2 separate regions of the Homo sapiens genome follow, and region 2 is linked to region 1. The links are contacts of gene promoters, found by promoter capture Hi-C in human tissues and cell types (Jung and others, 2019). All regions are on one chromosome and are shown on one strand. Each heading gives the region's core, a stretch centred on a gene start or on the middle of the fragment in contact. The rest is flanking DNA. Distances are from core to core; before and after follow the strand shown.

Evidence for each region. The method cuts DNA at HindIII sites, captures the fragments that hold promoters and counts their contacts. A contact is called where the count stands out against the background at its distance.
Region 2: a contact is called between a fragment that was not itself captured here and the fragment with the promoter of CYP4F3 in region 1, in 2 of the 25 tissues and cell types used here (dorsolateral prefrontal cortex and spleen).

What each region holds. Positions count from the first base shown.
Region 1 is chr19:15,636,623-15,643,255 of GRCh38, reverse strand. CYP4F3 (cytochrome P450 family 4 subfamily F member 3) reads right to left here and starts at 2,359. Exons shown (of 13, transcript NM_000896.3): 1 at 2,311-2,359; 2 at 1,643-1,841. The coding sequence starts at 1,840. The HindIII fragment of the contact is 9,363 bases long and covers 1-6,633 here.
Region 2 is chr19:15,850,629-15,857,112 of GRCh38, reverse strand. It overlaps the pseudogene CLEC4OP. Among named protein-coding and RNA genes, the nearest start is that of UCA1, 25 kb to the right of the region's middle. The HindIII fragment of the contact is 7,299 bases long and covers 1-6,064 here.

The sequences.
Region 1 (6,633 bases), core at 1,110-3,609:
TCTTATATATCTGTCTATCTATCCATTCATCTATCCTATCTGTGCATCCATTCATCCATCTAGCCTATTATCTATCTACCTACCTATCTATCTATTCATTTATCTATCTAATCTATTCATCCTATCTAACTTTTCTATCTATATATCTATCTGCCCATCCATCCATCCATCCATCCATCTTATCTGTACATTCATCCACTCATCCATTTATCCTATTATCTATCAATCATCTAGCTATCTATCCATCCATCTAATCTATCCATCCTACATATCCACTCTACCTATCTATCCACCTAATGTATCCATCTTATCTACTACTTTATGTATGTATTATCCATCCATCCATCCATCCATCCATCCATCCATCCATCTTATCCATGCATCCATCTGTCCATCCATCCATCTATCCTGTTATCTATCTATCTATCTGTCTATCTACCCACCTACTTATCCAGCCAGCCAGCCATCTATTCACCCTATCTGTGCATCCATCCATCCATCTATCCTATTACCTATCTATCTGTCTACATTCCTCCTGCTCTATCTCTCTTGGGGCCACCCCCAAGTCCCAAGAGCGCATCCCAAGGCAGAAGGAAAAGACACACTGTCCACTCACAGAGGCCCACTTAGCTTGAGAGGAAAAATTTCCTTGTTCTGGGAGTCATTTCAGCCCAGAGGTGGGCATATGAGGAGGTCCTCACAGGGGAGGTTTGTGGGGAGCAGTGTGGACTCAGGACATGTCCCTAAGGCTGGTCCCCACATCCCTTCATGCCCTGGCTGGTTCCTCCACCAGCCACACAGGTTCCAGTTCCTCCCATGGAGAAGGTTCTGCACACAGGGGACCTTCCCTTCTCAGCAGTCACTAGGGGAGCAGAGGTGACTCTAACTGTCCATCATGACAGTGGCTCCCACCTGGGAGAAGCTTCTGCACCAGGCTCTGTGCTAGTGCATCCTGTGCACCCTCCCACTTCACCTGTGGACACACCCATCAATCCTGCCATTTGCAATGAGCAGATTGAGACCACGTTCCGCAAAGGGGAGAGCAGGTCTAAGTCAGAGGGCAAGGTCTGGGGGAGGAGAAAGGTCAGGGAAGGCTTCTGAAAGGGGAAGTGAGTGGCCAACTTTTATGTGGGTTTGGCAACAGGACCCCATTGGGACATCTTACTGGGGAGGAACAAGATAAGAGGAAGGTGCCTCCGGATGTGGTGGAGGTGAGAGACAGCCCACACCTCTCCTCTGGCCCACCTATACCCTCATAAGAGGAAATAGGCCAGGTAGGGAGAGGACCCTGAACAGTGGGTACAGGAGGCCTCGAGTCCAGCAATGGAGAATGTGGGAACGCCAGGGGTTCACCTTTCTGTGCACCCAACCCCCTGCCCAAGAGCCCCGCAGAGGTGCATTAATGTGGAAAGACAGGCAGGAAAAGGATTCAACACAGGCCAAGAGTGGGAGAACAGGGAGGTGAGAAGGGCTTGGGTTGGCACCTCACAGAAATGAGTAAGCAGAGGAATGAGTAAGACGCCTCCCCTGCTTCTCTGCCACCCCAGACCCCAGCCCACCCCCTCTCACCTGAGCCTCATTCTTACCCCTCAGGAAGTCCATCCACCCTGAGACCCCAGACCCGTCCTGCTGCCACACTCACCAGGCCCAGGTGACCCAAGAACCAATTCCGTTTCGGGGGTTGCGGGAAACACCGGAGGCGGCAGCAGTTGTCATAGAAGGTATAGGTCCAGGCCAGGATGCGGGCCAGGAGCCAGGAGGCCCCAACCAGCAGCAGGAGCAGCCACGGGGATGCTGCCATTGGCCAAAGGCCCAGCGAGGACAGGCTCAGCTGTGGCATCCTGCAGGGCAGATGGGGTGGTGAGTGAGGTCCTGAGGCCCAGGGAAGGGCCCAGGGAGCTCCAGGGACAGTGGAGAGAGGCAGAGACGGGCAGTGCTGGAGATAGAACAGTAAGAGTAAACAGGGATGGATAAACAGGGGCTGAGGGGTAAAGTCCAGAAAGGCCCAGCCAAAACCAGCAACCAAGTGGCCTCCAGTTACCCGGTAAGCACTTAGATTGAGAAAGACAGAGAAACTGATTAAAGTCCAGAAAGGCCCAGCCTGAATCATTAGGACGTTGCCAGGGGCTTGGTTTCAGTTAGAAAACCACTCATCCTCCAAGCCAGCAACCAGGAGCTGCCTGGGCCTTGGGCAGCAATGGAGAATGTGGGAAGGCTGGGGCTCCCCTATGTGTGCGCCCAATCCCTTGCCCAGTGCCCATCTCCATCACAGGCTAGGATGCCCCAGGCCCACCACCCCCACCCTGGCACCTTCTGTCAGGAGCACCTTGTCCCACACAACCTCCTCTCCCCTTCTTCTGGGAGGTTTTTTCCCCTGGCCCCTGATGTAGGGAAGGCTGTGGGAGGCTAGGCTGGGCTGGGCTGGGCCAGCCAATCCCCACAGCCTGGGTGCCGCTCCCATGTCTGGGCAGCTGGCCAAAACCTGGGTGTGGGAGACCAGCTGGATGCAGAGGAACCAGCTCAGGGTGACACAGCACAGGCACTGGATCCTCAGGTCTCAGCACCTCCCACATAAGGTGGAGAGTAAGCCGAGAGGGGTCAGATAGAGTTTCCACTGTGTGACACCTGCTCTTAAAGAGCACCTACTGAGTGTGTGGCAGATAAAAGCATGAACTTGAGAGTTCAGGTGTCAAGCGAGCCAGGCCAGGCCAAGCCTTGTTCCAGATCATCTCCTGTGCTCCTCTCTAACCCTGGGCCGGTAGGACACCGTGTACCACTTCTGGATGCTGAATCAGGCAACCTGGAAGAGACAAGCCTCTATCCCCCTGCTGCTGGATGGAGTTCAAGTCTTGCCTCCAGGCAGTCCAGGGCCCTGTTGGAGACCTGACTGCTAGGAACGGGAACAAAGAATCCAGCCCCACTGAGGATTACCTGGGTCAGATTCTGGAGATTAAGAGCTCAGCTGGAAAAGCAAATCTGGAGGCCGGACTCAGTATAGGAGGACAGAGCGGGGACGTGGAGGGTTAGGATGAGAGGGAACGGATGGGGTCCAGGCAGGGGAAGGGCAGAGCCAGGGAACCATGAATGGAGTCCTCATTCTGCCTCATCCTTGCTCTGACTTTGGTCAGTACTGCCCCTCCTGGGTGCAGTCTTCCCATCTGGGAAATGGGATGTTCGATGAGGGCCTTAGCGGGGGACAATGAGGGCTCCTAAGAGGAGGGAGCCCCAAAAAGGAGTGAAGGGAAAGGGTGGCAACTAGCACTTGAGCTGCTGTGTGCCAGTCTCTACTCTGCACAAAGGCTGCATGGAAAGTACTTCTACTGTGTGCCAATACTCTAAATGAAGGGCAGCTACTGTGTGCCAGGTGCTAAATCCTGTCTACTCTGTGCCAAGTGCTTTCCATAAAGTGTGCCTACTGTGTGCCAGGTGCTCTACATTAACCCTGTATACTCAGTTCCTGATATTCCTCATAGAGTGCCTACTGTGTGCCACCTGCTCTACATAGTGAGTGCCTATTGAGTGCCACCCCCTGTATATGAAGAGTGCCCACTGAGCACCAGTTGCTGTCTACATAACACATGCCTACTGAGTGCCAAGTGCTCTACATAAACAGTGCCTACTGATACCACCTGCTCTATATGGTGACTTCCTACTGAGTGTTTCCTGATCTACATAAAGAGGGTCTATTGAGTGCTGCCTGCTCGAGTGTTGCCTGTGCTCCATAAAGTGTACCTACTGTGGGCTGCCTTCTGTACATAAAGGGTGCCTACTGAGTGCTGCTTGCTCTACATGAAGAGTTCCTACTCTTGCCTGCGCTACATAAAAAGTGCCTACTCAGTACCACCTGCAATACATAAAGAGTGCCTACTGGCCAGGCACAGTAGCTCATGCCTGTAATCCAAGCACTTTGGGAGGCCAAGGCAGGCAGATCATCTGAGGTCGGGAGTTCAAGACCAGCCTGGCCAACATGGTGAAACCCCATCTCTACTAAAAATACAAAAATTAGCCGGGCGTGGTGGCGGGCACCTATGATCCCAGCTACTCGGGAGGCTGAGGCAGGAGAATCTCATGAACCCGGGAGGCAGAGTTTGCAGTGAGCTGAGTTCATACCACTGCACTCCAGCCTGGGCAACAGAGTGAGACTCTGTCTCACAAAAAAATAAAAAAGAGAGAGAGCCCATTGAATGCCACTTGCTCTAGATAAAGAGTGCCTACAGATGCCACCTGCTCTATATAAAGAGTGTTTACTGAGTATCATCTGCTCCTGATAAAGAGTGCCTACTCACTGCTGCCTGCTCTACATAAAGAGTGCCTACTGCTGCCACCTGCTCTTCATAGTGTGCCCACTCTGTGACTCATGGTCTACATATGGTCTACATAGAGTTTCTACTGTGTGACACCTGCTCTTAAAGAGTGCCTACTGGGCCAGGCACAGTGGCTTACACCTGCAATCCCAGCACTTTGGGAGGCCGAGGCGGGCAGATCACGAGGTCAGCAGTTCGAGACCAGCCTGACCAACATGGTGAAACCCTGCTTCTACTAAAATTACAAAAAATTAGCTGGGCATGGTGGTGTGTGCCTGCAATCCCAGCTACTCAGGAGGCTGAGGCAGGAGAATTGCTTGAACCCAGGAGGCAGAGGTTGCAGTGAGCTGAGATCATGCCACTGCACTTCAGCCTAGGAGACAGAGCGATACTCATCATCAAAAAAAAAAAAAGAGTGCCTACTGAGTAAATGTTTTTTTGGTTTTTTGCTTTTTTTTGGTTTTGGTTTTTTTTTTTTTTTTTTTGAGACGGAGTCTCACTCTTGTTGCCCAGGCTGGAGTGCAATGGCCCTATCTTGGCTCACAGCAACCTCCGCCTCCGATTCTCCTGCCTCAGCCTCCCAAGCAACTGGGATTATAGGCATGCAGCACCATGCCCAGATAATTTTGTATTTTTAGTAGAGACAAGGTTTCTCCATTTTGGTCAGGCTGGTCTCCAACTCCCAACCTCAGGTTATCCTCCTGCCTCGGACTCCCAAAGTGCTTGGATTATAGGCATGAGCCACTGTGCCTGGCCGTAAATGTAATTTTAAGATGAGTGGGGCTGTCCACAGGCAAGGACAAGGAGAAGGAGTTTGAGACCATGCAGGAGGCATGCGGTATTGTGGATGTTCACCAGGCCTAGGTTTGGATACAGTTCTGCTATTTCCTGGCTGTGTGACCTTGGGCAAATCTCTCAACCTGTCTGCACCTTACGTATCTCATCTGTAGGAGTCATATGGTGGATGAAATGGCTGGTGGAGTTGACCCTGAATACAGCTAGAGCTGTGAGGGTTTTACAGTTGTGCCCCAGGGAGGTGAACTGACCATCGTGGGGGGGGGGGGCAATTCATCATCCTGAACAAAGGAGATTAATTACATGTATTATTTGCCTAAATATACTATGAAAGGATACAGAAAAAGTAAAAGTGTTTACCTTTGTAAAGACGGCGAGACTGGATAAATGAAGGGCATAGGTACAAGAAACATTTTTCACTGTGCATTTTATTTTTTACATGAGTGAATATATTTTCTGCCAAAAATATTGCATTTGAAAATTTAGCCACCAGCTGTCAAGGAGTCTCATCTGAATCACAAAAAGGAGGAGGTAGAGCAAGATGGCAGAATAAAATGCGTCATTGATCGTCTCCTCCACAGGAACGCCAAATACAACAAATATCCACACAAGAAAATACCTTCATAAGAACCAAAAATTAGGTGAGTGATCATGGTATCTGGTTTTAACATCATATCAAAAAAAGAGGTACTTTGAACTCATGGAGATAGAGAGTAGAAGGATGGTTACCAGAGGCTGGGAAGGGGAGTGGAGGAGTGAGGGGAAGTTAGGGATGGTTAATGGGTACAAATAAAGATAGAAAGAATTAATTAGACCTATAATAAGACCTACTATTTGATAGTACAACAGGGTGACTATAGTCAATAATAACTTAATCGTACATTTTAAAATAATGAAAAGAATGTAACTGGATTGTTTGTAACACAAAGGATAAATGCTTGAGGGGATGGATAATCTATTCTCCATGATTTGATTACTGTGCATTGCATGCCTGTATCAAAATATCTCATGTACCTCATAAACATATATACCTAGTATGTACCCACAAAAATTAAAAATTTAAAGAGGCACTAAAGAATGTACAAAAGACAGGTTTTTTTTCTTTTTTCTTTTTTCTTTTTCTTTTTTTTCTTTTTTTTTTTTTTTTTGAGACAGAATCTTGCTCTGTCACCCAGGCTGGAGTGCAATGGCACGATAGCTCACTGCAACCTCTGCCTCCCGGGTTCAAGCAATTCTCAAGCCTCAGCCTCGCAAGTAGCTGGGACTACAGGCTCATGCCACCACGCCCAGCTAATTTTTGTATTTTTAGTAGAGACAGGGTTTCACCACGTTGGCCAGGCTGACCTTGAACTCTTGACCTCAGGTGATCTGCCTGCCTCGGCCTCCCAAAGTTCTGGGATTACAGGAGTAACCCACTGTGCCTGGCCAAAAGAGTCTTAAATTGCCTACACTAACACTTCCCCATCTCCCAGAAGTGGCCTCATGGCTGGAGAGAGAATCTGGGTGCTTGAGTGGAGGGGAGAGAGCACAGTGA
Region 2 (6,484 bases), core at 1,166-3,665, 210 kb before region 1:
TATAGATCAAACTGCTTGCTCTGACATGCACACTCACAGCCAATATTTATCCAGGGGGTCTTCCTAGGTGCACACACTTCTCACAATTGACTTGTGAGAATATATATATATATATATATATATATATATATATATATTTTTTTTTTTTTTTTTTTGAGACAGAGTCTCGCTCTGTTGCCCAGGCTGGAGTGCAGTGGCGCGATCTCGGCTCACTGCAACCTCCGCCTGCAGGGTTCACACCATTCTCCTGCCTCAGCTTCCCGAGTAGCTGGGACTACAGGCACCCGCCACCATACCTGGCTAAATGTTTTTTTGTATTTTTAGTAGAGACGGGGTTTCACTGTGTTAGCCAGGATGGTCTCGATTTCCTGACCTCGTGATCCACCCACCTCGGCCTCCCAAAGTGCTGGGATTGCAGGTGTGAGCCAACGTGCCCGGCCGTGAGAATATATTAAGAGCTGGGGATCTCCATTCTTTTGTTTGTGCTGATGGGGAAACTGAGGGGTGGCTGAATTGTTGGAGGCCATTGCAACGTGTATTACTTTCAATGGCAAAAACTGCGATTATTTTATTTTTTATTTCCATAGGTTTTGGGGGAACAGGTGGAATTCCTTGGAAGCTGAAATGATGGAGGCGGGGGTGTCCAGAGGGCGAGAGGAGTAAGATGCAGAGACACAGTTAGATGGGAAGACAGACAGAGGCAGGCAGGGAATTCACTGCCCTCGAATCCTGACTTTGAATCCCAGATCTACTATGTATTAGGTTGGTGCAAAAGTTATTGTGGTTTTACCACTATAGAAAACAGTGTGGAGATTCCTTAAAGAACTGAAAATAGGGCCGGACACGGTGGCTCACGCCTGTAATCCCAGCACTTTGGGAGGTGGAGGCAGGTGGATCACCTGAGGTCAGGTGGTACTTGGTTACATGAGTAGGTTATTTAGTGGTGATTTGTGAGATTTTGTGCACCCATCACCTGAGCAGTATACACTGAACCTAATTTTATCCCTCACCCCTTCCCACCCTTTACCCCCAAGTTCCCAAAGTCCATTGTGTCATTATTATGTCTTTGCATCCTCATAGCTTAGCTCCCACTTATGAGAGAACATACGATGTTTGGTTTTCCATTCCTGAGTTACTTCACTTAGAATAATGGTCTCCAATTCCATCCAGGTTGCTGCAAATGCCATTAATACATTCCTTTTTATGGCTGAGTAGCATTCCACTGTGTGTGCATATATACATACATATACACATATATACATATGTATGTATGTGTATATATACACACGTGTATATATGTATATGTGTATATATACACACGTGTATATATGTGTATATATATACACACATATTATATATGTATATATGTATATATACACACATGTATATATGTACACATACACACATATGTGTATGTGTATATATATCTCACAGTATACATATGTGTATATATTATATATGTGTGTATATATGTGTATATATATATCTCACAGTATATATATATCTCACAGTATATATCTATCTCACAGTTTCTTTATCCACTCATTGATTGATGGGCGTTTGGGCTGGTTCCATATTTTTGCAATAGTGAGTTGTGCTGCTATAAAAGTGCTTGTGCAAATATCTTTTTCGTATAATGACTTCTATTCCTCTGGGTAGATACCCAGTAGTGGGATTGGTAGATCAGATGGTAGTTCTATTTTTAGTTCTTTTTTTTCTTTTCTTTTCTTTTTGAGACAGAGTTTTGCTCTTGGTGCCCGGGCTGGAGTACAATGGTGTGATCTCGGCTCACCGCAACCTTCGCCTCCCAGCTTCAAGCAATTCTCCTGCTGCAGCCTCCCGAGTAGCTGAGATTACAGGCATGTGCCACCATGCCCAGCTAATTTTGTATTTTTAGTAGAGACGGGATTTCTCCATGTTGGTCAGGCTGGTCTCGAACTCCTGACCTCCGGTGATCCACCCGCCTTGGCTTCTCAAAGTGCTGGGATTACAGGCGTGAGCCACCGTGTCCGGCCCTATTTTCAGTTCTTTAAGGAATCTCCACACTGTTTTCTATAGTGGTAAAACCACGATAACTTTTGCACCAACCTAATACATAGTAGATCTGAGATTCAAAGTCAAGATTCAAGGGCAGTGAATTCCCTGCCTGCCTCTGTCTGCCTGCCCATCTAACTGTGATCTCTGCAACTTACTCCTCTCGCCCTCTGTACACCCCTGCCTCCATCCTTTCAGCTTCCAAGGAATTCCACCTCCCAAATGTAACTTCTTCCTTCCAGGACTTCCTGACATCAACTAACCAGGCGACATCCTGGATAGGCCTCTTCAAAGATGGCCAAGGAAGTGCCCACAGGTGGATGGATGGCTCAGCCCCCACCTACATGTGAGTATCTCCTTTGACACCAAAGATAGTCTCCCCTAAGAGGCAGGCATGGCTTTCAGGCAGTAAGTTATGACCACTGTAGGTGTTTCTCTTTCATTCATTCACAATGAAGTACCCGTAGTAGCTCCCAAACTGCCTGATATCCTTTCTGTTTTTTGTTTTTTTTAAGATGGAGTTTCACTCTTGTTGCCCAGGCTGGAGTGCAGTGGTGCGATCTTGGCTCGCTGCCACCTCTGCCTCCTGGGTTCAAGCGATTCTCCTGCCTCAGCTTTCTGAGTAGCTGGCATTACAGGCACCTGCCACCACACCCAGCTAATTTTTTGTATTTTTAGTAGAGACGGGGTTTCATCATGTTGGCCAGGCTGGTCTCAAACTCCTGACCTCAGGGGATTCGCCGGCCTCGGCCTCCCAAAGTGCTGGGATTACAGGCGTGAGCCACCGCGCACAGCCGACATCTTTTCTATTATCCTAGTTATAGTTATTTTGTTACTTGACAAGAGTGTTCCCAGTTTGGTGCTTGAGAAATTATGGGTTCAATGTCAAACTCTTTTTTTTTAAATTTAAATATACTTTATTGATAAAAAGTGCTAACAATCATCTGAGCCTTCAGAGAGAGTCATAATCTTTTTTAAATTTTATTTGAATTTTAATTTCTGGGGTACACGTGCAGGATATGCAGGTTGGTTACATAGGTAAATGTGTGCGATGATTGTTTGCTGCACCTATCAACTCATCACCTAGATATTAAACCCAGCATGCATTAGCTATTTTTCCTAATGCTCTCCCTCCCCCAACCCCACCTCCTGACAGGCCTCACTGTGTGTTGTTCCCCTCCCTGTGTCCATGTGTTCTCATTGTTTGGCTCCCACTTATAAGTGAGAACACGCTGTGTTTGGTTTTCTGTTCCTGCATTAGTTCACTGAAAATAATGGCTTCCAGCTCCATCTATATCCCTGTAAAGGACACGATCTCGTTCCTTTTTACGATTGCATAGTGTTCCATGGTGTATACGTACCACATTTTCTTTATCCAGTCTATCATGGATGGTCATTTGGGTTAATTCCATGTCTTAAATAGTGCTTCAATGAACACAGGCGTGCATGTATCCTTGTAACAGAATGATTTATACTCCTCTGGGCATATACCCAGTAATGGGATTGCTGGGTCAAATGATATTTCTGGTTCTAGATCTTTGAGGAATTCCACAATGGTTGAATTAATTTACATTCCCACCAACAGCGTAAAAGCATTCCCGTTTCTCTGCAACCTTGCCAGCACCTGTTGTCAAACTGCTTTCTTTGTTGCAGGACTTTTCAGAGCCCTGAATGTGCTAATGAGCACTAAGCCTACTCAGAAGGAGTGAAACAATGTAGCATTTGCCAACTGTATGACTTTCCCATGGCTGCCATAGCAAAGTACTGCAAACTGGGTGGCTTAAAACAACAGAAATGTGTTCTTTCACCGTTCTGGAGGCCAGAGGTTTCCAGTCAAAATGTCGGTAGGGCCATGCCCCTTCCAAAGGGTCTGAGGAAGAATCTTTCCCTGTGTTTTCCAGCTTCTGGTGGCTCCAGGCATTCCTTGGCTTGCGGCGGCATCACTCCACTGTCTGCCTCTGTCTTCTCACGGCCTTCTCCTCACCTCTGTGTCTCCTTTTTTCTGTCTGTTATAAGGACACTCAACATTGGATTTAGGGCCCACCTGACAAACCCAGGATGATCTCATCTTGAGAGCTTTCATTTAATTACAGCTGTAAAGACCCCCTTTCCAAGTAAAGTCACATGCACAGGTGTTAGGGGGTTGGACATGGCATATATTTTTGGAGAGGACACTTTAATTCACTATACCTCTTGGCATTGTCTTGCATCCTCACACTGTATGCCTTTTTCTGCGACATTTCCTACCTCCTGCATCACCTTCCCTGACTGGCAAGCTGCTCTGCATGGGGCCAAGCTTAGGGCAGAAGTTGTCTCATTGGCAGATTGATCTGCAATCTGAGCACCTTCCGTATACCTTATGTGCACTGGTCATCATATCCTCAGAATGAATTTCTATTTTGTGAAACAGGAAACGGCAGCTCATAGACATTAAGACCGTAGTCAAACAGATACAAGTGGCAGAGCTGGAATTTGAATGGGGTCTGTCTGGTTTCAAGCGGAATGGACCTTGGAGAAGGGGAGAAGCCCAGAGGGATGGGGCAGTCGGATGGTGGCCCAGGAGCTGGAAGACTTTCAGCTTTTCTGAAGACTGTGGCCTTGTTGCTACTCCTATCTGAGCTCCACTTGGAAAAAAAGAGGGAAGGGGTTGACCAGATGGTTACCATACAATGGGCTCAATAAGTGGCCATACAATGGGCTCAATAAGAGGCCCCAATAACTGGGGGCCTCTTGAGCTTCAGGTGGCAGATCCTGACTCACAGAGGGCAGGAGTTGGGGCTTCAGGCTCTGGTCCCATCAGAAAGGGATGTGGTGGGCATCTCTTCACAGAAACTGGGACTCCAGGAAATTGGATGATAATGGAACCACCCCAGCCTGTGTGATGATGCTCTACCAGGGACACTGGAGCAACTCCTCTTGCAAATCAGAGTCTCCTGTTTACATCTGTGAGAAGAGGCAGAGCTGCTGACCTAGGCCCCTACCCCATAAGATTGGTGTAAACCTCTTGTTGTGCATCCTCAACCTCCATCCCTGCCCTCTCTGGGCTCTGAATCCCCAGAGGCAACAATAAAGGACGTTTCTCCAAAGCCTAGAGTCTTTCTTGGCACAAGGCTTACTCACTTTTCATGTCCTTTTCTGATTTCTGCTGAGTGGAAGAAACGCCCCAGGAGCAATGTTGGGTCCGTCTATCCCTGCAAGGGGATTGTAGTTCCCACTCCCATTAAAGCCAGGCTTGGCCATGCTCCTGCTTGAGGTAATGAGATGGAACAGGAATTGGCATGTACCACCACTGAGCAGGAACCTTAAGAGCCTTATGTGGTTATATTATTTTTGCTTTTCCCTTGCTACAAGAACAGCCCATCCCAGAGAGAGGCCACTTTTTCACACTTGGTCCTGCAAGGAAGAAGACCCTGCAGAACAGAGCTTCTGTGGACCCACTATGGATATAAATGTAGCCAAGAAATGAAGCTTTGTGGTTGTCAGTTGTGTGAATCCGAAAATATCTGAGACAGGTCTCAATCAATTTAGAAAATTTATTTTGCCCAGGTTAAGGATGTAACCCTGACACAGCCTCAAGAGGTACTGACAACATGTGCCCAAGGTGGTTGGGGTACAGCTTGGCTTTATACATTTTAGGGAGACATAATACACCAGTCAATACATGTAAGATTTGCATTAGTTGAATCTGGACGTGTGGGACGACTTGAAGCTGGGCAGCGATGCAGGGTTGGCAGAGTGGGGGCTTCCCAGTCATAAGTAGATTTAAAAATTTTCTGATTGGCAGGCCAGGTGCGGTGGCTCATGCCTGTAATCCCTGCACTTTGGGAGGCTGAGTTGGGTGGATCACCTGAGGTCAGGAGTTTGAAACCAGCCTGGCAAACCTGGTGAAACCCCATCTCTACTAAAAATACAAAAAAATTAACTGGGCGTGGTGGTGGGCACCTGTAATCCCAGCTACTCAGAGGCTGAGGCAGAAGAATCACTTGAACCTGGGAAGCAGAGGTTGCAGTGGGCCAAGATTGTAACGTTGCATTCTAGCCTGGGCGACAGAGGAAGACTGTGTCTCAAAAAAAAAAAAAATTTTTTTGGATTGGCAATTCGTTGAAAGAGTTATTACCAATAGAAAGGAATGTCTGGATTATGATACAGGGTTGTGGAGACCAAGGTTTTATTATGTAGATGAAGTCTCCAGGTAGCAGGCCTCAGAGAGAATAGATGGTAAATGTTTCTTATCAGACTTAAGGTCTGCATTGACGTTTATGCTGGTCTGCTTTTCCTGAATACCAAAAGGGAGGAGGCTGTAATGAGGCATGTCTGGCCCCTTCTACTTCTACCTTCTCTTCCCATCATGGCCTGAACTAGGTTCAGGTTTTTCAGGTTAACTTTGGAATACCCTTGGCCGAGAAAGGAGGAGTCCATTCAGATGGTTGGGAGGCCTTAGAATTTTAGT